Regions from separate parts of the Homo sapiens genome. Here regions 1, 2, 3 and 5 are each linked to region 4. The links are contacts of gene promoters, found by promoter capture Hi-C in human tissues and cell types (Jung and others, 2019). All regions are on one chromosome and are shown on one strand. The core of a region is centred on a gene start or on the middle of the fragment in contact, and the rest is flanking DNA. Distances in the headings are between cores, read along the strand shown.

What was found. Contacts are between HindIII fragments. The study calls those that stand out against the background at their distance.
Region 1: a contact is called between the fragment with the promoter of PTK7 here and the fragment with the promoter of DNPH1 in region 4, in 2 of the 25 tissues and cell types used here (adrenal gland and neural progenitor cells).
Region 2: a contact is called between a fragment that was not itself captured here and the fragment with the promoter of DNPH1 in region 4, in 2 of the 25 tissues and cell types used here (dorsolateral prefrontal cortex and lymphoblastoid cells).
Region 3: the fragment with the promoter of PPP2R5D here is called in contact with the fragment with the promoter of DNPH1 in region 4 in 1 of the 25 tissues and cell types used here (stomach).
Region 5: a contact is called between a fragment that was not itself captured here and the fragment with the promoter of DNPH1 in region 4, in 4 of the 25 tissues and cell types used here (dorsolateral prefrontal cortex, mesenchymal stem cells, psoas muscle and 1 more).

The regions. Positions count from the first base shown.
Region 1 is chr6:43,073,346-43,078,450 of GRCh38, reverse strand. PTK7 (protein tyrosine kinase 7 (inactive)) reads right to left here and starts at 2,137. Exons shown (of 20, transcript NM_002821.5): 1 at 1,884-2,137. The coding sequence starts at 1,962. It overlaps KLC4 (kinesin light chain 4), which reads right to left. Exons shown (of 16, transcript NM_201521.3): 15 at 4,486-4,549; 16 at 3,358-3,829. The coding sequence ends at 3,779. It overlaps KLC4-AS1 (KLC4 antisense RNA 1), which reads left to right and starts at 2,221. Exons shown (of 2, transcript XR_002956347.1): 1 at 2,221-2,756; 2 at 3,184-4,118. RefSeq lists a silencer at 2,050-2,149 and an enhancer at 2,479-3,002. The HindIII fragment of the contact is 20,814 bases long and covers 1-5,105 here.
Region 2 is chr6:43,028,848-43,034,574 of GRCh38, reverse strand. It overlaps RRP36 (ribosomal RNA processing 36), which reads right to left. Exons shown (of 7, transcript NM_033112.4): 7 at 4,976-5,483. The coding sequence ends at 5,347. Among named protein-coding and RNA genes, the nearest start is that of RRP36, 10 kb to the right of the region's middle. The HindIII fragment of the contact is 7,304 bases long and covers 1-5,727 here.
Region 3 is chr6:42,982,015-42,987,721 of GRCh38, reverse strand. PPP2R5D (protein phosphatase 2 regulatory subunit B'delta) reads right to left here and starts at 3,152. Exons shown (of 16, transcript NM_006245.4): 1 at 3,018-3,152. The coding sequence starts at 3,044. It overlaps LOC124900215 (a long non-coding RNA gene), which reads left to right and starts at 3,408. Exons shown (of 2, transcript XR_007059580.1): 1 at 3,408-3,890. RefSeq lists silencers at 2,794-2,943, 3,034-3,103 and an enhancer at 3,254-3,373. The HindIII fragment of the contact is 19,136 bases long and covers 1-4,710 here.
Region 4 is chr6:43,228,183-43,233,376 of GRCh38, reverse strand. It overlaps DNPH1 (2'-deoxynucleoside 5'-phosphate N-hydrolase 1), which reads left to right and starts at 3,896. Exons shown (of 4, transcript NM_006443.3): 1 at 3,896-4,116. The coding sequence starts at 3,921. RefSeq lists silencers at 3,598-4,037, 4,098-4,287 and an enhancer at 3,615-4,114. The HindIII fragment of the contact is 36,780 bases long and covers 1-5,194 here.
Region 5 is chr6:43,419,297-43,424,422 of GRCh38, reverse strand. The region is part of intron 5 of LOC105375065 (a long non-coding RNA gene); the gene reads right to left. Among named protein-coding and RNA genes, the nearest start is that of ABCC10, 5.7 kb to the left of the region's middle. The HindIII fragment of the contact is 7,247 bases long and covers 1-5,126 here.

The sequences.
Region 1 (5,105 bases), core at 888-3,387, 150 kb after region 4:
ATTGTTTACAGCACATGGACAGGTTCCACAACAAGGCACATTTGGTGGAATTGATTTAAGGCTCTCATTAAAATGTTCCTTTGTTGAGCACAAGACATCCCCCCACCCCTGAGGAGACTACAGACCTCCTGTCCTAAGCCCTCAGCCTGCCCTAACTTCCCCCAACAGGATCCCCCACACACACGCGCGCACACACACTAAACACCAACCAGTCACCAGATTAAGTCAATTAACATCAGAGTCATCTTCTCATGGAAGGAATTTAGGAATTCAGCATTTGTTGAGCAAGAGCCCCATCTTCACCAGAAACTCCCCTTGACTCTAGTACCCTGAACAGCAGCAGTGAAGGCAGCCTCATTGGGCAGACCCACACACCAAAACCCAACCAGGACAGCCAGGGGGCCTGTGAGCTTGGGCTGCTCGCCCAGATGGCTGGGCCCCCATCCTGGCTGTGCAAAAAAACTTCCATACTTCCTCTGGGAGCAGATGTGGATTCTGCCACGAGCAATAACCACCACACACATCACAAGAAAAACGGGGCAACTCCAGAAACACCTCCTCCAAATCCCTGGAGATTGGTCTCTTTCCTGGGTTACATTTACCTCTCCTTTTACAACTGGGGGCAGGGGAGATGTTGATTCCACCAGCACCAAAACCCCTCCACAGCTGGCAGGCCAGAAAGATATTAGAAAGGCAATTCCTTACCCATGCCCTTCCCATTGCCACCTTCAAAGGAGATGGAAGGTGATCACCTAGGACAGGTCTCCTCGACAGAGCTCCCCAAGAGAAAGCTGCTTCGAGGACCACCAAGGAGTGTTGTGGAGGGTCGGGGGCTTTATTTCCAGTCCGGGCTATTTGGGATGTGCGGGTGGCTTGGTGCTTTCCTGTAAGGCACTTCAACACCTCAGTGATGACTCTTAGGTGTGACCAAGCCAGGAAATAAAAGCTGCGGGAGTTGGGGGGGCGGTGCTGTCTGCCCTGGTGATGAGGGCCACACCCTCGTTAAAATGCTAAGGCCCCCCCCCAAGAAAAGCCAGAATGAGCTCTTTTTGCCTTTCTTCCCTTAGAAATACTTCCTTTCCTCTGTGAGGACAGTCAGGATGGAAATCCAGGAAGGAGCAGAACAAACCCCGTCCGCACCTTTGCAGCCAGGCCATGCCCGATTTTGGCAGCGGCCTTCACACATTAGTCACCGCGACAGCCTGGGACCCTCGGATCCCCGGATTCGGCCCTGGCACGGAGTGGGCGCAGGGTTCCAGACCAGTAGCTAGAGGCCATGGATGGGGGCGGCCCCTAACTCTTCCCTTCTTCCGCCCTCACCCGCAGGGCCATCTGGGGTCTCAGCTTTGCCCAGGAACTCGGAGGAGGGAAGCCGGGAACGTCGGGTCGGCGTAGGTAACAAAGCTCCGCGCTTTGCGCGCCGCAGGTCTGTCCGGCATCGGGCCCCAAACCAGCAACTCTTACCTGGGCCGACCCTGCCGGGTGGGGTGGGGAATTCCTTTTTCTCCATCGCGCTCCCCACGGTGGGTGCGGATGGTCTTTTCTCCCCCGACAAGAAACTCCCCATCTGGGCCCGAGAGCCAGCAACTCTCGGCAGTTCTCGAGCAAACTCTCGGCTCAGACCAGAAAAACTCAGGGAGGCTGGAAATGCGTCCCCGCGGCGCGAGTGGGAGGGGTACCCTGACCGCGTCCCTGGAGGCTTCGCCAGCCTCCCGACACCCGGGCTCCTTGCGCCCTTCCGCCGCAAGCCTGCACCCCCAGCGAGCCTCTCCACTACTCCAGGGCCGTTCCAGCCGCCCAAACCCACCGCCCCGGGCGCAGCCTTTTGCCCACGGGACTCCCGCGCTTCCCAAGCTCTGTGCCCCCAACTCTCGGGTACTCACCGCCCAGCAGCGGCAGCAGCAGGACGCTGAGCAGAGGCAACCGGCGGGGTCTGGCCGGGGATCCCCGCGCAGCTCCCATCGCGGCGGGCTCAGGAAAAGGAGCTGAGGGCGCACGGCGGGCGCGCAGACTGCGCTCCGCGGCGGGCACAGGAGGCGGAGCGCACCGGAGCGCGGGCGCCGCAGCAGCAGCCGCAGCCGGAGCCCGACCCCGAGGCGTCCCGAGGCGTCCCGAGCCGGAGCCGCGCGCGCCCAGTACCTCCGAGTCCCCGCGCGCCGCCGCCGCCGCCGCCAAGCCCCGCCCCACGACGCCCCCTCCCCTCCGGCCCCCGCACGGCGCCCCGCCCCCTCGACGCCCCCTCCTCGCCGAGGCGGGGAGGAGCTCAGTAGGGGGAGGGGTCTGGAGAGGGATGGAGAATAGAGAGAGCAAGGCTCAGGGAAGTGCAGGGGACCTGAGTATTTGCTGTACCCACCACCGACTCTGCAGGGATCCGGGAGAACCTAAGTGACTTGTGCGATTCCGTGGACCCTGGGGAGAATGGTCCATTCTGGGCATACCTGGAGGCTCTGGCCAACAGTTCCCCCAGAATTCTCCAGGTGGGGGCAGGGGAAGAGGCGGGCCCCGCCAACTCTTCAGCAACCCAAAATCTTAACGGCAGACCCAGAACAGCAGGGTGTCCTTAATGTCCCCAAGTAACCTGAAGATGCTGTGTAGCCCGGAGAGGGGCTGAAGTGTGCATGACTGGGGTCTGGTTTGGCTGTAGACCAATCTGAACCCAAAGGTAGAAACACGCTGGGCTCTGAAAGCCAGGCTGAAGTCTGCTAACTGACAAATTCATCCCAAGTCCATCTCCAGGCAGTCTGGGCTGTGTCAGGGTATGGCCAAGTCTCCAGCTGTGGGGAGGCCCAGCACAACCCTTGTTCCAGGCACCCCCACCCCCAGCGCCACCACCCCCACATTCTTTCTTTGTTGTGAAAGCAGCAAGGGGTGTAGGAGGCGGGTCAGGAGGAGTCAAGCTTTAGAAGATGGGCCCCAGCTGCTGCTCAGGCCTCCAAGATATGCTGAGAGGGGATGGATAGTGCCTTGTCTCCCCTCTGGTTCCGGAGGGCCCCCCAGGCCTGTTTAGACCTCCCTTCCCCCAAGCAGCTGGGAGGAGGAATGGCAGCCACAGAGGGCCTCACAGCCAGGAGAAGTGGCGCCAGGACTCCAGGGTCCTGCCACATGGCCACCACATGTCCCTGACAACCCAGTCCACAGCACCTTCTCCTTGGGTTGTGAGCCTCCTTCTTCCCCATCCCCCAGATGCCTTCCTACAGGCCCTGCTGGAGATGATACAAACAACGGGAGGAAGAGAGGAGAGATCCAAGAATCAACACTCCTCCTGCTGCTCCATCCATCACTGCCCCTCACCTTCTGTGAAGGGCCCCAACACAAGCCCTGCTTCATACCCTCTTCAATCAGGACTCAAGTCACAGAAAGGTTACCTGATTCTTTTATTTAAGAAAAGTGAAATACATGGACCTGAAGTGAGACAGCAGAGGGAGGGAGTAAGAGCGGCCAGGGCAAGGCAGCTTGGCTGGCCAGCCCCCAACCCTCTGACTGAAAAGCCAGCAGCAGGCTGCATCTCTGAGGGCCATACCTGCTTTGTACCCACCTTGGGGCCTCAGAGCTAGCTACTCTAGAGGACCACAGGGTGCAGAGAGGGTGTCCTGAGGGTCCTTCCTAAGAGGGATTCCTGAGGAGGGAGCTGAGACCCTAAGGGCAGCAGCAATCTTCTGGTTAAACTGCTCCCCTTCACTGTCCCACCTAGGGGTGGGGAAGAGCCAGGAGCAATGGGGAATGCTGTGAGGGCTGTGGGGGTGGGGGGACCCAGCAGACCTGGGGGCCGGGTTGAATGTCAGCTGCTTGAAGAGAGGTCCATGGTGCTGGCACTGAGGCCCCGGGAGACCTGAAACAGACAACACTACCCCATCAGCTCAGGGACCTCGGCCTCCCAAAGACTGGCTCCTAGAGTCCATCCATCCCATGGTCACAGTGTATCTCTGGACCTAGGATCACATCTGTCTCTGGACCAGTCTATCTCTGGACCTGGGACTTTGTTTAGCCTCTGCTAGGGTTTTCCAGAAGGCCACAATCTGGTGGAGAAGCTACCTGGAAGAACCACATGAATACTGGCATATACTTGTGTGTTGATACAAGAAGTCATTTGCCATTAAAATATCACTAGTGTTTTCTCAGATGGGGATTATTTAATACTTTTCTTTTTCCATTCTCATCTACTACTAAGGCGGCTGCAGGATGAAAAAATAATTCGTATCTCCAAATAATTCTTAAATTATTCATAATTCCAAAGTACCAGTTTACAGAATATTCCTATTTCCCTCCTTATTAACTTATTTGCTACTATGTCTGGCCTGAAACTGTCCCTTGGTGGTCAGCACTCACCACAAGCTATCTGCCTGATTCCTTAATGACTGCAATCCCCTGGCTCATCTTCATCCCAGATGACTCCTCTCCCTTCCCTCTTCCCTTACTCCACTGGGCTTGCTCACTGGCTGTCCTTTTTTCCTCACCCACCAATATGCTCACAAGCACTGCTCTCACCTGGAGGGGTGCTGCACTAGGTTGGTTCAGATAGTTCAAGGAGGCTGCTCGCTTCATGTTGCTGCTACAATGGAAAACGGAAGAATTGAGGCCTCCTCTCTTCCTCCTGAGTGGCCTTAAGGCTGTGGGCCTCTTGAGCACTGCCACACTGGGGCACCCATTCTACCCAAACTCTCTCTCCATGGCTGGCCCGTTGACTTCCTCCCTGTTTCTCTCCGAGATACTTCTCCAGAGATCAGGAGCCAAGAGGAGTTGGAGGCAAGGGCTTACTTTACTTGCCTGCTTTACCATATCTTTTTTTTTTTTCTTTTTTTTTTTGAGACGGAGTCTCGCTGTTGTCGCCTGGGCTGGAGTGCAATGGCATGATCTTGGCTCCCTGCAACCTCTGCCTCCTGGGTTCCAGCAATTCTCCTGCCTCAGCCTCCCAAGTAGCTGAGATTACAGGCACCTGCCACCACACCCGACTAATTTTTGTATTTTTAGGAGAGAGTTTCACCTTGTTGGCCAGGCTGGTCTCAAACTCCTGACCTCAGGTGATCCACCCGCCTCGGCCTCCCAAAGTGCTGGGATTACAGGCGTGAGCCACTGCACCCGGCCACTTTACTGTATCTTGACTTCCA
Region 2 (5,727 bases), core at 2,048-4,547, 200 kb after region 4:
TAAGGGAAGAACACACCAGCTTTGGCCTTGAAACCCTGCATGTCGCCATCTGCAGTGCAGCTCCTGTGTTGCCCTCTTCAGCACACATCTCACCCCACCCTGAGATTCGGGACTGCTTGATTTGCCCAAATCCAGGTGAGAAGCTTTGATTTCAGGCACAGTCCAGCCTTCTGTCACCAGCCAGGAAGGACATGAACCTTTCTCTCCCTCAGGGCCATCCATTCTAGAGGGCAGAGAGTTGGCCTCATTTCTGAGATAACTTAGGGGACAGAAGTTCACTACCCTGAGCCCATTGTGAGGCCATCCTCACAGCCGTGACTCCTTATATTTCTACTGCTGGGTTGGGACCTTGGCTTGTCAAGACTAAGTAGTCAGCCCCCACCACCCCAAAAACAAAACCAAGCAAAGACCACATACAGATTCCATTTATAGGAAATGTCCCAAATAGGCAAATCTATAAAGACAGAAAGTAGATGAGTGGTTGCCTAGGGCTGAGGAGACTGAGGATGACTGCTAAGGGGCATAGGGGTTTTTTTGGGGGGAGGTGTCAAAAATGTTCCAAAATTGTAATAGTTGCACAATTCTGTAAATTTACTAAAAAACACTGTATACCTTAAATGGGTAAACTGTATAGTTAAGTGAACTGTATCTCAATAAAACAAAAACAAAACCCAAAAACCAACAGCTGAAGCTCAGAGGTTTCCAGTATCTCCCCTTGGTCCCTGTTGAAGGGGAAAAGCAACAATTTGAAGGCTTAGAGTAGCCAACACTGACTGCCTTTTAATGGACATTCACATTTTATAACCACATCATCTGAGCCCATTTCCCATGCTTGGGAAACTCCCCGCCACAAATCTACACAAAAGATAGGGCTCACTTCCTACCCTATAAAAGACCAGATCCTGGTTTTCCCAGTGCTATAAAGCCATGTGACCAAGACTTAGCTAATCAGAGCAAAGCAAGAAAGTAGAGAACACATTTTGGTGGCTATGTGACACTTTCGTATCAACACCATAATTCTGATAGGCTTTATCAGCCAGAATCCATTATTTGACTTTAAAGTAGGATTGACATATGTGACAACAGGGACCCTGCAGCACTGGGTCCCTCACTTCCTCCTGTCCCAGTAGCTACATCCCTAGGGTTAAAATCACCAGAAGAGCAGTTTCTCTTTCATCTCTCATTATGCTGCAGCTTCAACTTCTATCACCAGAACTACGTCTTACCCATCCCAGAAGCATCAAGCAATAGATGTCCTAACTTCTGATTCTACTTCTCTTCCTTTTCATTAGAGCTACCTTTTTCTTTTTTTTTTTTTTTTGAGATGGAGTCTCACTATGTTGCCCAGGCTGGAGTGCAGTGGCGCAATCTCAGCTCACTGCAACCTCCGCCTCCCAGGTTCAAGTGATTCTCCTGCCTCAGCCTCCTGAGTAGCTGGGACTACAGGCACGTGCCACCATGTCCGGCTAATTTTTTGTATTTTTAGTAGAGATGGGGTTTCACCGTGTTAGCCAGGATGGTCTTGATCTCCTGACCTCATGATCCGCCCTCCTCGGCCTCCCAAAGTGCTGGGATTACAGGTGTGAGCCACCGTGCCCGGCCCAAGAGCTGCCTTTTTTTAGATACAGGATCTCACTGTGTTACCTAGGCGGCAGTGCAGTGGCTGTTCACAAGCGCAATCACTGCATACTACAGCTTTGAACTCCTAGTCTCAAGTGATTGTCCCACCTCAGTCTCCTAACTGGGGGCATAGAGCTGCTTTTAAGGTAGGCATTCTTTCTTTAAGAAAGGGTCTTGCTCTGTCACCCAGGTTGGAGTACGGGTGGCACAATCACGGCTCACTGCCTCGACCTCCCAGGCTCAAGTGATCCTCCTGCCTCAGCCGCCTGAGTATTCTTTGTAGAGATGCAGTTTCACCATGTTGCCCAGGCTGGATAGACTTTCAAATGTTCCTGGCTTATGATTTATCTAGCCTTAAAAAAAAAACAAAAAAAACAAAAAAAAAACTAGGCCAGGTGCGGTGGCTCACACCTGTAAACCTATCACTTTGGGAGGCCTAGGTGGGTGGATTACTTGAGGTCAGGAGTTTGAGACCAGCTGGCCAACACGGTGAAACCCCATCCCTACAAAAAAAAAAATTAGCCAGGTGTGGTGGCATACACCTGAAATACCAGCTGCTCAGGGAGCTGAGGCAGAAGAATAGCTTTAACCTGGGAGGAAGAGGTTACAGTGAGCCAAGATCGTGCCACTGCACTCCAGCTTGGGCGACAGAGGGAGACCCCATCTCAAAAAAAATTCTAGAAAATGCCCAGCCTCTTTGAAATATTCTTTCCTGAAATTTTGATTGTCAAGTCTCACATTTATCTTCATTTTGTTGTTTTATAGACAGGATCTTGCTCTGTCACCCAGGCTGGAGTGCAGTGATGCCATCATAGCTCACTGCAACCTCAAGTTCCTGGGGTCAAGCAATCCTCCAGCCTGAGCCTCCAGAGAAGCTGGGACTATAGGCATGTGCCACATGTCTGATTTTTTAATTTTTTTTTAGAGACAAGGTCTCCTTATGTTGCCCAGGCTGGTCCCCAACTGAGGACCTCAAGCAGTCCTCTCTATGCCTCCCAAAAAGTTGGGATTACAGGTGTCAGCAACTACACCCAGCCTCTTCCATGTTTTTTAACCTCTTTTCCTTAGTTTCCACTTCTCTGTATGTCAGTGCTCTCTCTGTGTAACTTCAGATCTATTTCCAGTTCATTCTCCCTTTAGGGAGAAGTCTAATCTGCTGCTTAACCATAAAGTTTCTAACTTCTCGTAGTGTACTTTTTTTTTTCTGAGGTGGAGTATCACTCTTGTTGCCCAGGCTGGAGTGCAGTGGCGCAATCTTGGCTCACCGCAACCTCCGCCTCCTAGGTTCAAGCAATTCTCCTGCCTCAGCCTCCCAAGTAGCTAGGATTACAGGCATGCGCCACCACGCCCGGCTAATTTTTTGTATTTTTAGTAGAGACGGGGTTTCACCATGTTGGCCAGGCTAGTCTCGAACTCCCAACCTCAGGCGATCCACCCACCTCAGCCTCCCAAAGTGCTGGGATTACAGGCACGAGCCACCATGCCTGGCCCTACTTTTCATTTTTAAAAGGTTTTCTTTTTAAGTTTTACTTTTTTTTTTTTTTTTTTTGAGATGGAGTCTCGCTCTGTTCCCCAGGCTGGAGTGCAGTGGCACGATCTCGGCTCACTGCAAGCTCTGCCTCCCAGGTTCATGCCATCCTCCTGCCTCAGCCTCCAGAGTAGCTGGGACTACAGGCACCCGCCACCACGCCTGGCTAATTTTTTGTATTTTTAGTAGAGATAGGGTTTCACTGTACTAGCCAGGATGGTCTCCATCTCCTGACCTCGTGATCCACCCGCTTTGGCCTCCCAAAGTGCTGGGAACACAGGCGTGAGCCACCGTGACCGGCCTTAAGTTTTACTTTTTAATCACACCAGTTTAGTACCTTTTGATATTCATTTGTCACACTTTTTCTTTAAACATAAGACATTTTGTATTTTTTATTTTATACTTCTCACATTTTAATTTTTGCCAGTCTGGACGACAGAGTGAGACTCCATCTCAAAAACAAAAAACAAACAAAAAAAAAACAATCCTCAAGAAAGGATTACATTTGCTTCTGCCAGGACCCTGGAGACACTATCTACTTGAGACTTTTTTTTTTTTTGAGACGGAGTCTCGCTCTGTCGCCCAGGCTGGAGTGCAGTGGCGCGATCTTGGTTCACTGCAACCTCCGCCTCCCGCGTTCAAGCAATTCTCCTGCTTCAGCCTCCTGAGTAGCTGGGATTACAGGCGCCCACCACCACACCCGGCTAATTTTTGTATTTTTAGTAGAGACAGGGTTTCACCATGTTGGTCAGGCTGGTCTCGAACCCCTGACCTCGTGATCCACCTGCCTCTGCCTCCCAAAGTGCTGGGATTACAGGTGTGAGCCACCATGCCTGGCCATTTTTTTTTGGGGGGGGGGGCGCGGTGGTGATTTCACTCTTTTTGCCCAGGCTGGAGTGCAGTGGTGCGATCTTGGCTCACTGCAACCTCTACCTCCCAGGCTCAAGTGATTATCCTACCTCAGCCTCCTGAGTAGCTGGGATTACAGGCACCCACCACCACACCCAGCTAATTTTGTATTTTTAGTAGAGATGGGGTTTCACCATGTTGGCCAGGCTGGTCTTGAACTCCTGACCTCAGGTGATCCGCCTGCCTCGGCCTCCCAAAGTGGTGGGATTACAGGTGTGAGCCACCACGCCCAGCCTACTTGAGACTATTTTAAACTAAGTTATCAGCCTGAGGATTTTCCAGACCACATGGGTTATAAACTCTTGTCCCAAACAGTACTGAAGGCCAGCTGTGCTTGTATATTACCATGGAAGCTTTATATCCCTACCTCTTAACATCCCTTGCATCCAAAACCAAAGCCAAGTAGGGGAGTTGTGGGATTGGTTCACCCACTAAATGATCTTGTCATCCTTGAGGGGCCCAGATTTAAGTGGGAGGGGTTTCTGATCTGACTTCCCAGTTGTAGATGCCTTAGGCTTTATTGCCTATCCCAATATGTGGCCCACTAAAAAGTAGTTCTAGGCTACCCACAAATCCCACATAAAAGCAGAGGCCTTAAGGCCGGAACGGTGGCTCAACGCCTGTAATCCCAGCACTTTGGGAGTCTGAGGCAGGCAGATCACTTGAGGCCAAGAGTTTAAGATCAAACTAGCCAACATGGCAAAACTCTATCTCTACTAAAAATACGAAAGAAATTAGCTGGGCTTGGTGGCGGATGTCAGCTACTCGGGAGGCTGAGGCACAAGAATCACTTGAACCTGGGAGGTGGAGGTTGCAGTGAGGCGAGATTGCACCACTGTACTCTAGCCTGGGTGACAGAGCGAGACTCTGTTTCGGGGGGGAAACACAAAAAGAAGGCCACAAAAAACAGAATAAAAAGATGAGTAAAGAGAATGTTTATGAAGTGGCTCCTACATAATGTCCCAGCCCTGGGAGTCACGAACAGACTCCATGGTTTTCATTGGCCCCTCTTCTTCGGTATCAGAATCCCTGGTTTAAGGCAAGGATGAGAGAAGAACACGAGGACGCAATGAACCAGATTCAAGCTGAGGCTGTGTGGCATGGCAGAAGGCTGAACTATTCTTGTGTAGCCCTAGGGATAGTCCAAGAGCCCTCTAGTCTTCTCTGAGGCAATGAGATTCAAGGGCAGCTGTGATCCTTGCCCTTGAACGGAAACCAGCCGTGGCCAAATCTGTCCTCACAGATCCATGTCTCCCTGGGGCAGTGGCAGAGCAGAGGATAGTTCCTTATTACTCTTTGCTCAAAGGGAGATGTCTCCTGTCCTTGCCTGCATTTCGTCGCCTCTTTCGACTCAAGAAGTTCTCCAATTTCTTGCTGCGTTTCAGCTCCTTGAACTTCTCAGCTAGTGCCAACTGGCGCTGCTCAGCTAAATGACAGGGAGAATGAAAGTTGGTGAACAAAGAAGGAAGCCCCTATTCTTTCCCAAACCAGGTCAGTAACTCCAAGCCATTATGCTGGATACATGAGTTCTTTAAAGCTCACTGGTGCCCCTCTATCTTTTTTCTGAGACGGAGTCCTGCTCTGTTACCCAGGCTGGAGTGCAGTGACGCGATCTCGGCTCACTGCAACCTCCGTCTTCTAGATTCAAGTGATTCTCCTGCCTCAGCCTC
Region 3 (5,707 bases), core at 1,903-4,402, 240 kb after region 4:
GGAGGAACCAGGCCTACCACCCTTGCTCCCTGGCTCCTGCAGAACAGGTGAAGCACACACATTTCAGCCCAGCTCAGTAGTCAAATGCTGTGTAGCACAGAGGTTAAAAGAACATGTTTGGACTCAGCCCTGTGTTTTGGGCCCAACTCTTACTGGCTGTGTAATCACAGGCAAGTTAACTAGCCTCTCTGAGCCTCAGTTTCCTCATCTATTAGATGATGACAATCATAATACCCTCTTCCCTCAGCACAGTGTTAAGGCACATGAAAACCGTAGTGCTGGTCAATGTTATTACTATTATTATGAACAAGAAAAAAATCGGAGGGGGCAGGGGCACCCTACTCAGGAAAATAAAAGAGGTAAGTCCCAGAGGAGAACATGAAGGAAGAGGAGAGATGCGAATCCCTCCAAGAGATTATCTTAGCACCTATCCACTAAGCACGTACTTACCGTGTGAAAAGGAGTTGTCAAACCAAAATGAAACTTAGTTATTATCTCAAAGGGGAAGAAAAGTCTTGTCCACAATTAATTCCCATCCAAGGCCAAACACAAAAGGACCATAAGTGGCCTACTAAGTGTTCTGCAAATCCAGAAAAGAAAGGAGAGTTCACTCCTGACTGAGGGCTCAGAAAGGCTTTAGAGAGGAAGCTGTGAAAGATGGCCAGGAGAGAGGGGACAGGTCATAGATGAGCAATAAAGATCCTCCACCCACAGCCATCCAGACAAACCTCAGTCACACTGGCAACCCCCCTGCCCCTTAGAGCCTGCCAACCATTGAAGAAGGCCAAATGCAACTGAAAATCAAGAGCAGAAAAACCTTATAGGGAGGTGAGAGTTATGCCTGGCTCCATGCACCCCGTTACTTCCAACACCCTTTCCCAACCAAACGTTTACACCCATGGTCCTAGCAAATCTCACTGGCAATTTGTCTTCTTCACAATCTAGTAGGCTATTGCTTTCTGTGGATGGGACAGTATCTAGTCCAACAGACTAAAAATTACAAATGGGTGGGGACCTCACCAGCTTTCCCCGAATTCCATTTCCCTTAGCCCCTGTTGTGGCTGATTTCTGTGTGCATTGTCTACGACTGAGCTACCCAAACCACCTCCGCATGCCCACTCCCCAAGGACAGGGCCTGGGTGGGGCACAAAACCCTGTCCAGCTCACTACTCCCAGGAGGCTCACTATCTAGTACACCATCACCAACCCTGTACTTAGAACCTCAGGCCCTGAAAGGTTAAGGGGACAACTCAGAATCAGAGCTGCCTGGCAAATACAGAACAGCCCCAGGAGAAAAAGTTTGATTGAAAAGGTCAGAGATGGCAGCCCAGTAACCCAGCCAATCAGAGGGCAAATGAAAGCAATATACCTCTGGGGTCATCGAGCAGGTGGCCAGAACACCAGGCCAGAGCCAACCCCCACCAAAAAGGGCCAGCCCCAGGAGAGGAGAAGCTGGGGGAGGCTGGAACTGGTATCCTAGCATCCTATGTGTGAGTCTGTACCTCAAAGGAACCACACCTCTGAGTCAGACCTCAGCAACAGCAGGAAACAGAGGGTAGAAAAAGGCACGGATGAGGAGCAGGGGAAGGCAGCACCGAGGTAGATGAGGAAGGTGAAAGAAGGCAACATTAAGAACTGGCCTGTGGGCCAGGCACGGTGGCTCACACCTGTAATCCCAGCACTTTGGGAGGCCGAGGGGGTCAGATCACCTGAGGTCAGGAGTTCAAGACCAGCCTGATCAACATGGAGAAACCCCGTCTCTACTAAAAATACAAAATTAGCCGGATGTGGTGGCGCATGCCTGTAATTCCAGCTACTTGGGAGGCTGAGGCAGGAGAATCGCTTGAAGCTAGAAGGCAGAGGTTGTGGTGAGCCGAGATCGCGCCATTGCACTCCAGCCTGGGCAACAAGAGCAAAATTCCATCTCAAAAAAAAAAAAAAAAAAAGAAATGGCCTGTGTCAGGACATCATGATAAAGACATGGGTGTTCAGGGGTGGCTGGCCTGCAGGCTAAGAAGGAACAATAATCTGACAGTGAGGACAAATTCCCAATTTGAAGATGGTGTAGCTTAGGAAAGGCAGAAATCCAGCACTGGTGCGAAAAGAAAAAAAAAAAGGAAAAATGCAAAGGTTATCCTAGGATTAAGAATAAGGGTGAGGAGCCTACTCAGATTAGGAAAGGTGACTGGTCTAGGATGCACTTGGGTGACAGTTAGGAGGGCTTTGATACAAAAGAGGCCTTTAAGTCAGGAGACCTGATATTGCAGCTGGGCCTCCAGCAGGCTGTGTGACCTTGGACAAGTCCCTTGCCCTGTCGGGGCCTCAGTCTCCTCATCTGTACCATTAGGGATTGCACTGCATGCGCTCAGAGGTCCCTTCCAGCACCAACGTTGTGAGGTTCCATCAACAGAAGGGCTCAGTCCTGCTTACAAGTTTGTGTGTGAAGGAAGAACTAGAGGGAGGGGCCTAGGCCAGATTTGGGTGGAGGAGAGAGAAAGCAGCGCTGTTCTAGGTCAGGGGCTTGGCATGGAAAGAGAAGGGGCCGTAGGGGACTGCGGGGCGGCTGTCCCAGGCGGGTAGGAAGAGGAGACAAGGGGCTGCTCAGGGCGGGGCGAGGGGGCAATTCTGGAGGAAGGTGCAGTTTCAGATGAGGGGCTGCCCAAACCGAAGGGGGATCGGGGCCAGGGGTGATGGGGGGGACAGAAAAAGCAGGACAGTGACCTGGGAATGGGGCAGATCTGGAAGAAGGAGGTTACCCTGGGCCGGGGGTAAGAGAAGGGAAGAAGGGAGGGAGGTGTATGTGGGGGGAGTCTCTCCGGGGCAAGGTGGGGGAGCTGTCCTAGCTGCGGCACAAGCTGGGGGTGCTGCCAGCCGCGGGGGCGGAGGGCTGGCCCCAGGAGTCCTGCGGGGGCTGGACGGGAGGGTCAGTCTGGGGCTGTCCCGGGCCTGGCTCCGGCCCCTCCCAGAGCTCCGCGCAGGCTCCAAGGCGGCGGTGGGGGAAAAAGGGCCACGCTCACCTTCTCCTTTTTCAGTTTATAGGGCATCTCGGCCCGTCCGGACCCGGCCCGTCTCCTGCGGCCCCGCTCCGGCTCCGGCTTTGCTCGGCCGCACTCGGCCCGCTCGGCGTCTCTTCGCCACCGCCTGCGCGCTGCGCCCGGGTCGAGCGGTGCCTGCGCCTCCAATTGGCCCGAACTCCTACAAAACTGCCTGACAACCAGGCGCCGCCTCCTCGGATTGGTCATTGGAGCCAAGCTGCTTCCTTTTTTTCTTATTGGAAAGAAATAGTACAAACCGCCAGGGTTCGGCTTCCAGAATTGGCTGAAGTGGGTGGTCCCGCCCTAAAGTGGGTCGAGCTTAGAGAAGGAGGCGGGGATAAGGGGAAACCCAAGCTTGGCTAGGAGGGCTGCACTCCAGCGTCTGCTGTGCGTCGGCCTCGGCCATTCTTCGCGGCGCTTGGAGCCCTGCTCTTTCCTTCTAAAGGCTCTCACACTTTGCCCGCTCTGCTACCCTGTCCAGTCGGAATTGGAGGAAGGAAGCCCTAATACGGAGGGCACCTTTCTTCACTGGGGTAAAGTAGCCCTAATTGCAGATGCAAAATTGATGGAGGGAGCTCCCAAGGACCTTCCAAGACACCCGCCTCCCTAGACAGGGGTTGCAGAGGAGCAAAGGGGAAGCCTGGCAGGGCTAGGACCTGGGCGAAATGAGTGGAGAATCCCTGGCTTGGTGCAACTTTAGGAAGAGGGTCCCCGTTGCTACTGCAAGTGTACTGGGATTGGGGAACCAGCTAGATTTGAGCAGTTGGGAACGCAGTGGAAAAGCAACTTCATTGTTGACTGTCTCAGGAAATCCATCCCTTACTTGCCACCCTGCTCAAGTCCGTGTTCTAATGGGTAAGACTCAGTTTATGCCCACAAAGAGTTCGCAGTCTGGTGAATCACAGATGTGTATAAACAAAGGATTAAGAGAGAATGTAAACCAGGCAGGCACGGTGTCTCACGCCTGTAATCCCAACACTTTGGGAGGCTGAGGCAGGAGGATCACCTGAGGTCAGAGGTTCGAGACCAGCCTGGCCAACATGGCGAAACCCCGTCTCTATTAAAAATACAAAAATTAGCTGGGTGTGGTGGTGCACGCCTGTAATCCCAGCTACTCGGGAGGCTGAGGCAGGAGAATCACTTGAACCCGGGAGACGGAGGTTGCAGTGAGCCGAGATCACACCACTGCACTCCAGCCTGGGCGACAGAGCAAGACTCTGTCTCAAAACAGCAACAATGACGACAAAAAGAATAAACCTGTGGCCAGGCTCGGTGGCTCACGCCTGTAGTCCCAACACTTTGGGAGACCAAAGTGGGCAGATCACGAGGTCAGGAGTTTGAGACCAGCCTGACCATAGTGGTGAAACCCCATTTCTACTAAAAATACAAAAATTAGACAGGGTGCGGTGGCTCACGCCTGTAATCCCAGCACTTTGGGAGGCCGAGGTGGGCGGATCACGAGTCAAGAGATCGAGGCCATCCCGGCCAACATGGTGAAACCATGCCTCTATGAAAAATACAAAAATTAGCGGGGCGTGGTGGCGCGCGCCTGTAGTCCCAGCTACTCGGGAGACTGAAGCAGGAGAATCACTTGAACCCGGTAGGAGGCTGAGGCAGGAGAATTACTTGACCCCGGTAGGTGGAGGTTGCAGTGAGCCGAGATCATGCCACTGCGCTCCAGCCTGGGCGACAGAGCAAGACTCCGTCTACAAAAAAAAAAGAAGAAACCTGTGATGCAAAGGCATGAGAATGATACAATGGAGGCCGGGCGCGGTGGCTCACGCCCGTAATCCCAGCACTTTAGGAGGCCGAGGCGGGCGGATCACGAGGTCAGGAGATCGAGACCATCCTGGATAACACGATGAAACCCCGTCTCTACTAAAATAATACAAAAAAATAGCCGGGCGTGGTGGCAGGCGCCTGTAGTCCCAGCTACCCGGGAGGCTGAGGCAGGAGAATGGCGTGAACCCGGGAGGCAGAGGTTGCAGTGAGCCTAGATCATGCCACTGCACTCCAGCCTGGGCGACAGAGCAAGACTCCGTCTCAAAAAAAAAAAAAAATACTACACATTGGGTACAGTATACACTGCTTGGGTGATGGCTGCATCAAAATCTCATAAATCACCACTAAAGAACTTATTCATGTACAAAAAATAAATTTTTAAAATTCTATATAAAATAAAATATTTAGTCTTAAAAAAAAAAAAGGTCAGGCGCAGTGGCTCACGCCTGTAATCCCAGCACTTTGGGAGACTGAGGAGGGCGGATCACCTGAGGTCAGGAGTTCAGGACCAGCCTGGCCAACATGGCAAAACCCCGTCTCTACAAAAATACAAAAATTAGCCAGGCATGACGGTGGGTGCCTGTAATCCCAGCTACTCAGGAGGCTGAGGCAGGATAATCCATTGAACCCGGGAGGTGGAGTTTGCAGTGAGCCGAGATCGCACCATTGCATTCCAGCCTGGGCGACAGGGCAAGACTCCATCTGAAAAAAAAAAAAAAAAACACAAAACCTGTGTCCCTTACCCAGGTACCCAGGAGAGCAATGTTACAAGACAGTGGCCGTGGGGATGGAGAAGAGAGGATGGAGCATGAAAATGTGTAGAATCAACAGGATATGGTGATTCATTGTATTGTGGGGGGGACGGTAACGGAAAGGGAAGAGTTGAGGAT
Region 4 (5,194 bases), core at 2,647-5,146:
CAAAGAGATGGGGGCTGGCTGGTTTATGTATTGATTTATTTACTTATAAGATACAGAGGCCACTTTAGGAGGCCGAGGCTGGCAGATCACCGGAGGTCGGGAGTTCAAGACCAGCCTGATCAACATGGTGAAACCCCATCTCTACTAAAAATACAAAATAAGCCGGGCGTGATGACACATGCCCCGTAATCCCAGCTACTCGGGCAGCTGAGGCAGGAGAATTGCTTGAACCCAGGAGGCGGAGGTTGCTGTGAGCCGAGATCTCACCATTGTACTCCAGCCTGGGCAACAAGAGGGAAACCCTCTCTCAAAAAAATAAATAAATAAATAAAAAGATACTGAGGAACAAGATGGTGTGTGTGTGTGTGTCTGTGAATGTGTGTTCCTTGTCTTTGGGGGGGAATGGAGGGAAGGTGTGAGCGAGGATAAGGAGTGTTGGGGAGATTGCCTGTCAAGTCTGCTGGCACATGAGGCCTCCTTCCTAATCTGTGTATGCATGTTTGTGTGTGTGTGAGAGAGGGCACCCGGAGGTGGAGGGACAGGTGTGCAGCTGTGTCTTCATGTTTGCCCCATGGTCCGTGTATACCTAGCTGGGCCCAGCAGAGCAGTGGGCAGAAATACTCTGAAATCTCTATCTCCCTTTTGTATCTTAGCATTAAAAATATACATATTGTTGCATCTTCTCTGCACTCGCATACTTCAGTATTTTATCTTTCAGGAAGAATACGGAAGAAAACACTGATGGAGCTTTCCTCTGGGGAGTGGGGCTGGGGTCTCAGGACTTTCTTTCCACTGCATACTCTCTTGTTCCATTTGAAGGTTTTGTCATATATTTGTGATTGTCATAATAAAATGAGGATGAAATCAGTATTGGTGAACAATGAGTGCTTGCCTGTCTCCCTGAAGATACCGCCTCTATCAGCCTACTTACTACAGGGCTGAGCAGACTGTGAAGTGCTGTGAAATACATCCTCTCATTTAAACCACTCATTCATTCAACAAATATTTAATAAATGTTTCTTATGTGCCAGGCATAGTTCTAGAAACCAGGGATAGGCTAGGCACAGTGGCTCACACCTGTAATCCCAGTACTTTGGGAGGCTGAGGTGGGAGGATTGCTTGAGCCCAGGAGTTTAAGATAAGCCTGGGCAACATAGTGAGACCCCATTTCTATAAAAAATTAGCCAGGCATGGTGGCACTCGCCTGTAGTCCCAGCTATTCAGGAGGATGATGAGGGAGGATTGCTTGATCCTAAGAGTTTGAGGCTGCAGTGAGCTGTGACCATGACACTGCACTCCAGCCTGGGTGACAGAGCAAGACACCATCTCTTAAGAAAGAAAAGAAAGAAAGAGAAAAAAAGAGAAAGAAAGAAAGGGAGGAAGGAAGGGAGGGAGGAAGGGAAAGAAAGAAGAGAGAGAGAGGAAGGAAGGAAGGGGAAAGAAGGAAGAAAGAAGGAGAAAGAAAGAAAAAGAAAGAAAGAAAGAAGAAAGAAGGAGGAAGGAAGGAAGGAAAGGAAGGACGGGAGGGAGGAAGGAAGGAAAGAAAGAAAAAGAAAGAAAGAAGAAAGAAAGAGAAAGAAGGAAAGAAAGAAAAGAAAGAAAGCAGGAATACAGCAGTGAACGACCTTCTACTAGGTATAGAAAAACATGCAACAAAATTAATAAGTTATATGGTGTATGAGAAGGAGAAAAGGCAAGGTAGGGAAGGGTGATAGAGAGTACTGGGGGATGGAGGGCTGCCATATTGAATAGGGTGATCAGGGAAGGTGAAGTGTGAACAAAGACTTGAAGGAAATGAGGAGTGAGCCAGGAAGCTACCTGGGAGAACAGTGTTCCGGGCAGAGGGAACAGCAAATGCAAAGACTCTGAGGCAAGGGCATGGCTGACATGCTTAAGGAACAGCCAGGAAGCCAGTGAGGTGGCAGAGAAGTGAATGAAAGTAATAGAAGCTGGAGTTAGGGAAGTAAGAGGGTGACAGGATCATCTGGAGCCTTGTGAGCTACTGTGAGGTTTTCAGTTTTTACCCCAAGTGAGATGGGAACCACTGGAGGGTTTTGAGCAGAGGAGGGTCATGACCTAGATCACTCAAGCTGCTGAGTGGAGAGCAAACTGTAGCAGGGAAGGGCCAGGGGAGGTGTATAGAGAACCCTTGACATAAGTAATTCCATCTTAGAAAGACTCCATCACTGGGCACATTCGCTTATGCCTGTAATCCCAGCGCTTTGGGAGGCTGAGGTAGGGGGATTGCTTGGGTCTAGGAGTTTTGAGACCAGCCGTGGAAACATAGTGAGACCTCGTCTCTACAATTTTTTTTTTTTTGAGATGGAGTTTCACTCTGTTGCCTAGGCTGGAGTGCAGTGGCGTGATCTTGGCTCACTGCAACCTCTGCCTCCCGGGTTCAAGCGATTCTCCAGCCTCAGCCTCTGGAGTAGCTGGGACTACAGGAGTGTGCCACCACGCCTGGCTAACTTTTTGTATTTTTAGTAGAGACGGGGTTTCACCGCGTTAGCCAGGATGGTCTCGATCTCCTGACCTCGTGATCTGCCCACCTCGGCCTCCCAAAGTGCTGGGATTACAGACATGAGCCACCGAGCCCAGCCAATTTTTTTTTTATTAGCTCAGCATGGTGGCACGTGCCTGTAGTCCTAGCTACTCAGGAAGCTGAGGTGGGAGGATTCCTTGAACCCTCAAACTTGAGGCACGAGTTTGAGGCTGCAGTGAGCAATGATCGTGCCTCTGCACTCCAGTGTGGGCGACAGGGACCTTGTCACCAAAAATAATAAATAAATAAATAAATAAAGTTTTAAAAAACTTCATCTTACATTTCAAAAGGCATCAAGCCAACAGGGTCCAGATGTTCGCCTAACCAATGGAGACAACACCCAACCAGATAAGGGCATCACCCTTTACTATAAGTCCTCATCAGAGGACTCAAGGACCATAAAATGATCAGGACTTCAGCAGCTAGACACGGCCACCTTAACAGACCGAGTCTTGCTATCACTCGTGCCCAGCACCTGGTGTCTGCCTCTGAAGGCTCTGCCCAAATCAAGGACTCTTCCTTGCAAGCTCTTGATGACTATCCCCATCAGGCCGGGACTCTGTCCACAGCACTCTCCTTGGACTGGTTCGTTAACCCCTTTTCTCTTGATGTTAAATGTTCTTGTGTTTGATGTGAAATTTTAACCTGTAACATTTATATCCTTACATATAATACTATGGATGGTTTGCAATACAGTCTGACTTGTGGAGTGGCTCCAGCTTGCATGCCCGCGGCTCTGACTACCGAGTGAACAGGTGGTCCTAAGGAGAACTGACTTCTTGGGAACTCCGTGTGACGCCTAGCTTTTGTGATTGAAATAGCATCAGTAAAAACCTGATCTTGTGGACAGACACAAAGGTGGGTGGACCTGGTTCTGTCTGACCTTGAGCAGCTCACGACATGTGGACACCTGTTAGGAGGCTGTGGAGAGCCCAGAGGAGGCTTAGACCAGGGTGGTGGCCCTGTAGGCGGTCGTGAGATTTCAGATTTGGAAGGACGAATCCACACGAGTTGTCAATGGATGGGACGCAGAGTTTGAGAGAAAGGGAACGATCCAGATGACTCCGAGGGTCTTGGGCCTGAGCAGCTGGGAGGATGCAGCTGGGGAAGACGGCGGGGAGGAGGGGAGCAGAAGCGGGTGAGGTGGGGAAGCCCTCGAGTTCTGCCTGGACAAGGTCAAGTTAAGGTGCGTGTTAGGCATCCGAACGTCAAGTCCAGGAAGGGTGTGTTCCCGAAAGGGTCCCGGCTGGATCCTCCCAGTTCGTCGTCCCCATTCCACAGGTGTGGACTCAGCAGCCGGGCTCTGCGCTGGGCCGGGCGGGGTCACGTGGCCGCGGGCTGGCGCCCCCTGGCGCCGGAGAGCGCGGGCGGCTGGGGAATGGCTGCTGCCATGGTGCCGGGGCGCAGCGAGAGCTGGGAGCGCGGGGAGCCTGGCCGCCCGGCCCTGTACTTCTGCGGGAGCATTCGCGGCGGACGCGAGGACAGGACGCTGTACGAGCGGATCGTGTCTCGGCTGCGGCGATTCGGGACAGTGCTCACCGAGCACGTGGCGGCCGCCGAGCTGGGCGCGCGCGGTGAGGCCCTGGGGCCGCGGGACGCGGGGACGCGGGCGCGGACCTGGCTGGGGTGGCAGGGACCCGGCCTGTCCGCCCCCCCGACCCCCGGCAGCTGCGCTCCCGGCGCCCGGAGCCCGCCCTCCTACCCCGGTGCTCCATCCAGCGCCCCAGCCCGAGAAGGAAACGGGCCGGGGCTCGGGCTGCGTGGGTCCCAGCAAGCCTGCGGGTGTAAGGCAGACTCAGCATTATCTTGACCTTTGGTTCCTTCTTGGAGAACTCTGTCTTCAGCTGCTTTCAGAGCGTTTGTAGGGTGCAACAGAAAGAAGGTAGATTGGGCTGCTTTGCTTGGGCTCAGTTCCCACCTCACCCGCTGGAATCTTTTCCACCACCCAACACGAAAGGTATCCTCCTGCCTCCCCACCAACTTTTTTTGTTTTGTTTTGTTTTGTTTTTGAAACGGAATCTCACTCTGTCGCCCAGGCTGGAGTGCAGTTGCGTGATCTCGGCTCACTGCAACCTCGACCTCCCGGGTTCAAGTGATTCTCTTGCCTCAGCCTCCCGAGTAGCTGGGACTACAGGCACGCGTCACCACACCCGGCTACTTTTTGTATTTTTAGTAGAGACGGTGTTTCACCATATTGGTCAGGCTGGTTTCGAACTCCTGACCTCAGGTGATCTGCCCGCCTCGGCCTCCCAAAGTGCTGGGATTACAGACAGGAGCCACCGCCCAGGGCCTGCCTCCCCTTTTTCTGTGAAGACATCAGCACTCTTTTAGACCTGGCTGACCCCAGTTCTCACTATTACCCTCTCTCACATTTTTGTTTTGTTGATACAAGGGCCTCTCTGTCGCCCAGGCTGGAGTGCAGTGGTGCGATCATAGCTCACTGCAGCCTCGGCTTCCTAAACTCATGATCCTCCAGCCTCAGCCTCCTATTAGCAAGGACTGCAGGGGCACGACACCATGCCTGGCTCAAAATTTTTCTGTAGAGATTGGGAGTCTCACTATGTTGCCCAGTCTGGTCCCGACCTCCTAGCCTCAAGTGATCCTCCCGCCTCAGGCCTCCCGAAGTGCTGGGACTATAGATGTGAGCCCCCA
Region 5 (5,126 bases), core at 1,768-4,267, 190 kb before region 4:
TTTTAAATTTACTTTGTCCAGATCCATCAGAGGAATCACTGTCTATGACAGCTATAGCCTTATGGAATGTATTTCCTAAATAATACTTGGGCCAAGCACAGTGGCTCACACTTCTAATGCTAGCACTTTGGGAGGCCAAGGTGAGAGGATTGCTTGTGGCCAGAAGTTTGAGACCAGCCTGGGCAACATAGCAAGACCTCATCTCTACAAAAATAAAAATAAAAAATTAGCCGGGCATGGCAGTGCCCACCTGTAGTCACTGCTACTCAGGAGGCTGAGGTGGGAGGATGGGTTGAGCCCAAGAGTTTAAGGTTGCAGTGAACTATGATTGGGCCACTGTACTCTAGCCTGGGCAACAGAGTGAGACCCTGTCTCTAAAATGATACTTGAGGCCAGGCGCAGTGGCTCACGCCTGTAATCCTAGCACTTTGGGAGGCCAAGGCAGGCAGATCACCTGAGGTCAGGAGTTCAAGACCAGCCTTGCCGATATGGGGAAAACCCAGCTCTACTGAAACTACAAAACTTAGCCAGGCATGATGGTGTGTACCTTTAATCCCAGCTACTTGGGAGGCTGAGGCAGGAGAATTGCTTGAACCTGGGAAGCAGAGGTTTCAGGGAGCTGAGACCATGCCACTGCACTCCAGCCTGGGTGACAGAGCAAGACTCCCATCTCAAAATAAATAAATAATAATAATAATAAAATACTCTAAAGTTGAAATTACTCCTTGATCCGTGGACTGCAGAATGGATGTTGTAGTTTTTTTCGTTTCTTTTTTTGTTTGTTTTTGAGATGGAGTCTCACTCTGCTGCCCTGGCTAGAGTGCAGTGGCGTGATCTTGGCTCACGGCAACCTCTGCCTCCCAGGTTCAAGTGATTCTCCTGCCTCAGCCTCCCAAGTAGCTGGGATTACAGGTGTGGGCCACCACACCTGGCTAATTTTTGTATTTTTAGTAGAGACGGGTTTCACCATTTGGCCAGGCTGGTCTAGAACTCTTGACCTCAAGTGATCTGCCGTCTTGGCTTCTCAAAGTGCTGGGATTACAGGCATGAGCCACCATGCCCAGTCTGAATGTTGTGTTAACAGGCATAAAAACAACAGTCATCTCCTTATACATCTCCATCAGAGCTCCTGAATGACTGGATGCATTGTCAATAAACGGTAACATTTTGAAAGGAATCTTTTTTTCTGAGAAGTAGTCCTCCAAAGTGGGCTTAAAATATTCAATAGACCATGTTATAAACAGATGTGCTGTCATCCAGGCTTTGTTGTTCCATTTATAAGGCACAGATAAAGTAGATTTGGCTGTGTGTGGTGGCTCACGCCTGAAATCCCACCATTTCGGGAGGCCGAGGCAGGCAGATCACTTGAGATCAGGAATTTGAGATCAGCCTGGCCAACATGGCGAAACCCTGTCTCTACTAAAAATACAAAAATTAGCTGGGTGTGGTGGTGCGTGCCTGTAATCCCAGCTACTCGGGAGGCTGAGGCAGGAGAATTGCTTGAACCCGGGAGGTGGAGGTTGCAGTGAGCCAAGATTATGCTACTGCACTGCAGCCTGAGTGACAGAGCAAGACACCATCTCCAAAAAAAAAAAAAATAGCTTTAACATAATTCTTAAGAGCCCTAGGATTTTCAGAATAGTAAATGAGCATTAATTTCAACTTAAAGTCACCAATTGCATTAACACCTAACAAGAGAGTCAGCCTGTCCTTTGAAGCTTTGAAGCTAGGCATTGACTTTTCCTCTCTAGCTATGAAAGTCTTAGATGGCATCTTCTTCTGATAGAAAGCTGTTTCATCTACTTTCAAAATCTGTTGTTTCATCCAGGTGTGGTGTCTCACGCCTGTAATCCCAGCACTTTGGGAGGTCAAGGAGGGTGGATCACAAGATCAGGAGTTCGAGACCAGTCTGTCCAACATTGTGAAACTGTGTCTCTACTAAAAATACAAAAATCAGCTGGGCGTGGTGGTGTGTGTCTGTAATCCCAGCTACTCCGGAGGCTGAGGCAGGAGAATTGCTTGAACCCGGGAGGCTGAGGTTGCAGTGATCCAAGATCACACCACTGCACTCCAGCCTGGCGACAGAGTGAGAAATCTGTTGTTTCATGTAGCCACCTTCATCATTGATCTTAGCTAGATCTTCTGGTTAACTGGCGACAGCTTCTGCTTCAGCACTTGCTGCTTCACTAGCACTTTTATATTATAGAGATGGCTTCTTTCCTTAAACGTCATGAATCAACCTCTGATAGCATCAAACTTTTCCTATGCGGCTTCCTCACCTCTCTCAGTCTTCATAGAATTGAAGAGTTAGGGCATTACTCTGGATTAGACTTTGGCTTAAGGGGATGTTGTAGTTGGTTGGGTCCTTATCCAGACACTAAAATGTTCTCCATATCAGCAATAAGGCTGTTTTGCATTCTTATCATTTGTGTGTTCAGTGGAATAGCACTTCTAATTTCCTTCAATAAATTTTCCTTTGCATTCACAACTTGCTGTTTGGCCAAGAGGCTTAGTTTCTGACCTATGTTGGCTTTCAACATGCCTTCCTCACTAAGTTTGATCATTTCTAGCTTTTTTTTTTTTCGCACATTCTCCATCCTAGAAGCTTTTTTTTTTTTTTTTTTTTTTTAAGTGAGAAATGTGCAACTCTTTCTTTCACTTGAAAACTTAGAGGCCACTGGGCCTGGTGCGATGGCTCACGCCTGTAATCCCAGCACTTTGGGAGGCTGAGGTGGGTGGATTGCCTGAGGTCAGGAGTTCGAGGCTAGCCTGGCCAACATGGTGAAACCCCGTCTCTACTAAAAATACAAAAATTAGCCAGGCATGGAGGCGCAAGCCTGTAATCCCAGCTACTCGGGAGGCTGAGGCAGGAGAATCGCTTGAACCCAGGAGGTGGAGGTTGCAATGAGCCGAGATCATGCCATTGTACTCCAGCCTGGGCTACAAGAGTGAAACTCCGTCTCAAAAAAAAAAAAAAGAAAAAAGAAAACTTAGAGGCCATTGTAGAGTTATTTATTTATTTATTTATTTATTTATTTATTTATTTTCAAGATAGAGTCTTGCTCTGTCGCCCAGGCTGGAGTGCAGTGGCACAATCTCAGCTCACTGCAACCTCCGCCTCCTGGGTTCAAGTGATTCTCCTGCCTCAGCCTTCCAAGGAGCTGGGACTACAGGAGCATGCCACCACACTCGGCTATTTTTTGTATTTTTAGTAGAGACAGGGTCTCACCACCTTGTCCAGGCTGATCTTGAACTCCTGGCCTCAAGTGATCCACCTGCCTCGGCCTCCCAAATTGCTGAGATTACAGGTGTGAGCCACCCACCCGGCCTCATTTTAGGGTAGTAATGGACCTAATTTTAATACTGTGTGTGTCAGGGAATAAGGAGGCTCAAAAAGAGGGAGATAGGGGAATGGCTGGTAGGTGGTGCAGTCAAAGAACACATATTTATTAACTTCTGTGTCTTACATAGGTGTGATTTGTGGCATCCCAAAACAATTACAATAGTAACATCAAAGATCACTGATCACAGTGATCACAGATCACTATAACAGACAGAGTGATAATTAAAAGTTTGAAATACTGTGAAAATTACCAAAATGTGATACAGAAACACGAAGTGAGCACACGCTGTTGGAAAAATGATGCTGATAGACTTGCCCAACACCAGGTTGCCACAAACCTTCTATTTGTAAAAATGTAATCTGCAAAGTGCAATAAAGCGAGATGCAGGTGAATGAGTTATGCCTGCATATATTTGAAATTTTTTCACAATAAAGTTTTTAAAAATGGAGATTTGCAGAATATGGAATAGTGTGTTTCAAAGAGTGGTCTATATAGCATTTGCTTTGGAGTCACCTGAGCTGCTTATTAAAATGCAGATTCCAAAGTCCACTCTAGACCTGCTGAATAAGACTCTCTAGGAGAGGATCCTACAATCTGCAGTTGGGTGATTCTTGCACTCAGGTTTAAGCACCACAGATGTCAAGAGCCTTGCCGAGGATTATAGAACTAGTACACATCACAGCACATGTTCTAGATCAGGATCCGCAATACCCAATCCACACCCTTAACACAAGGCCTCATGGTCTAAATTGAATCAGGAACCTCCCTCAAGACTTTTTACTTGAACTACTGTCAAGTACTAAAATATATTATTTTACATTAATAACCTTTTGATTATAATTGCAATACCCTCAGCACTCCTTGCCTATCGCCTTGTAAGATGTGCCTTTGCTCCTCCTTCACCTTCCACCATGATTGTGAGGCCTCCCCAGCTATGTGGAATTGTGAGTCCATTAAACCTCTTTTCCTTTATAAATTACCCAGTCGTGGGTATGTCTTGAAAATGTAGAAATGAAGAAAAGTATGAAGAAAAATTTAAAATCCTTAGAGACACAGTTAGCTAACTGCTAAATTTCAAGCAAGAGCTAACTAGGTGGGGAGACATTATTCAGGGGTACCCCTAACAACCCATCACTTTCTGACTGCTTTCACCATCTACCCCTGCAGTGAATCCTGTGCCTACCATTCCTCTTGGCACTGAGAGCAAGGCAGATGGATCCAAAATCATTATTCTTCTCATTAAATCTTTGGATGTGTCTTCTCACTCACAGACACCCTCTTGACCACAGAATTGCACACACATCAAATGCAGATATGCACATGTGTCCCTGATGTAACTCACAAAATCTAACATTCATACTTATATATTTTTTAGTCCAGCACAGATGCTAACCACTTTTTTTTTCTCTCTGTGCCAAGGTTCTATCTTTTCCTTCTTCCACCTAATTTTCCAGGCTTCAGAGCATGTTGGGGCTTTCAGGTCCCCAGTAAGAATTGTAAGTTATATAATCACTCCTAGTCTGGAAAGCTGATGGGCAGGCAGGTTAATTTAAGAGCTCTAGTTTAACCCAAGAAAATAAGAAAGTTAGAAAAAATAAACTTTTTTTTTCTTTTTTGAGACGGAGTCTCACTCTGTTGCCCAGGCTGGAGTACAATGGCACAATCTCAACTCACCGCAACCTCCGCCTCCTGGGTTCAAGTGATTCTCCTGCCTCAGCCTCCCGAGTAGCTGGGATTATAGGCACACGCCACCACACCTGGCTAATTTTTGTGTTTTTGGTA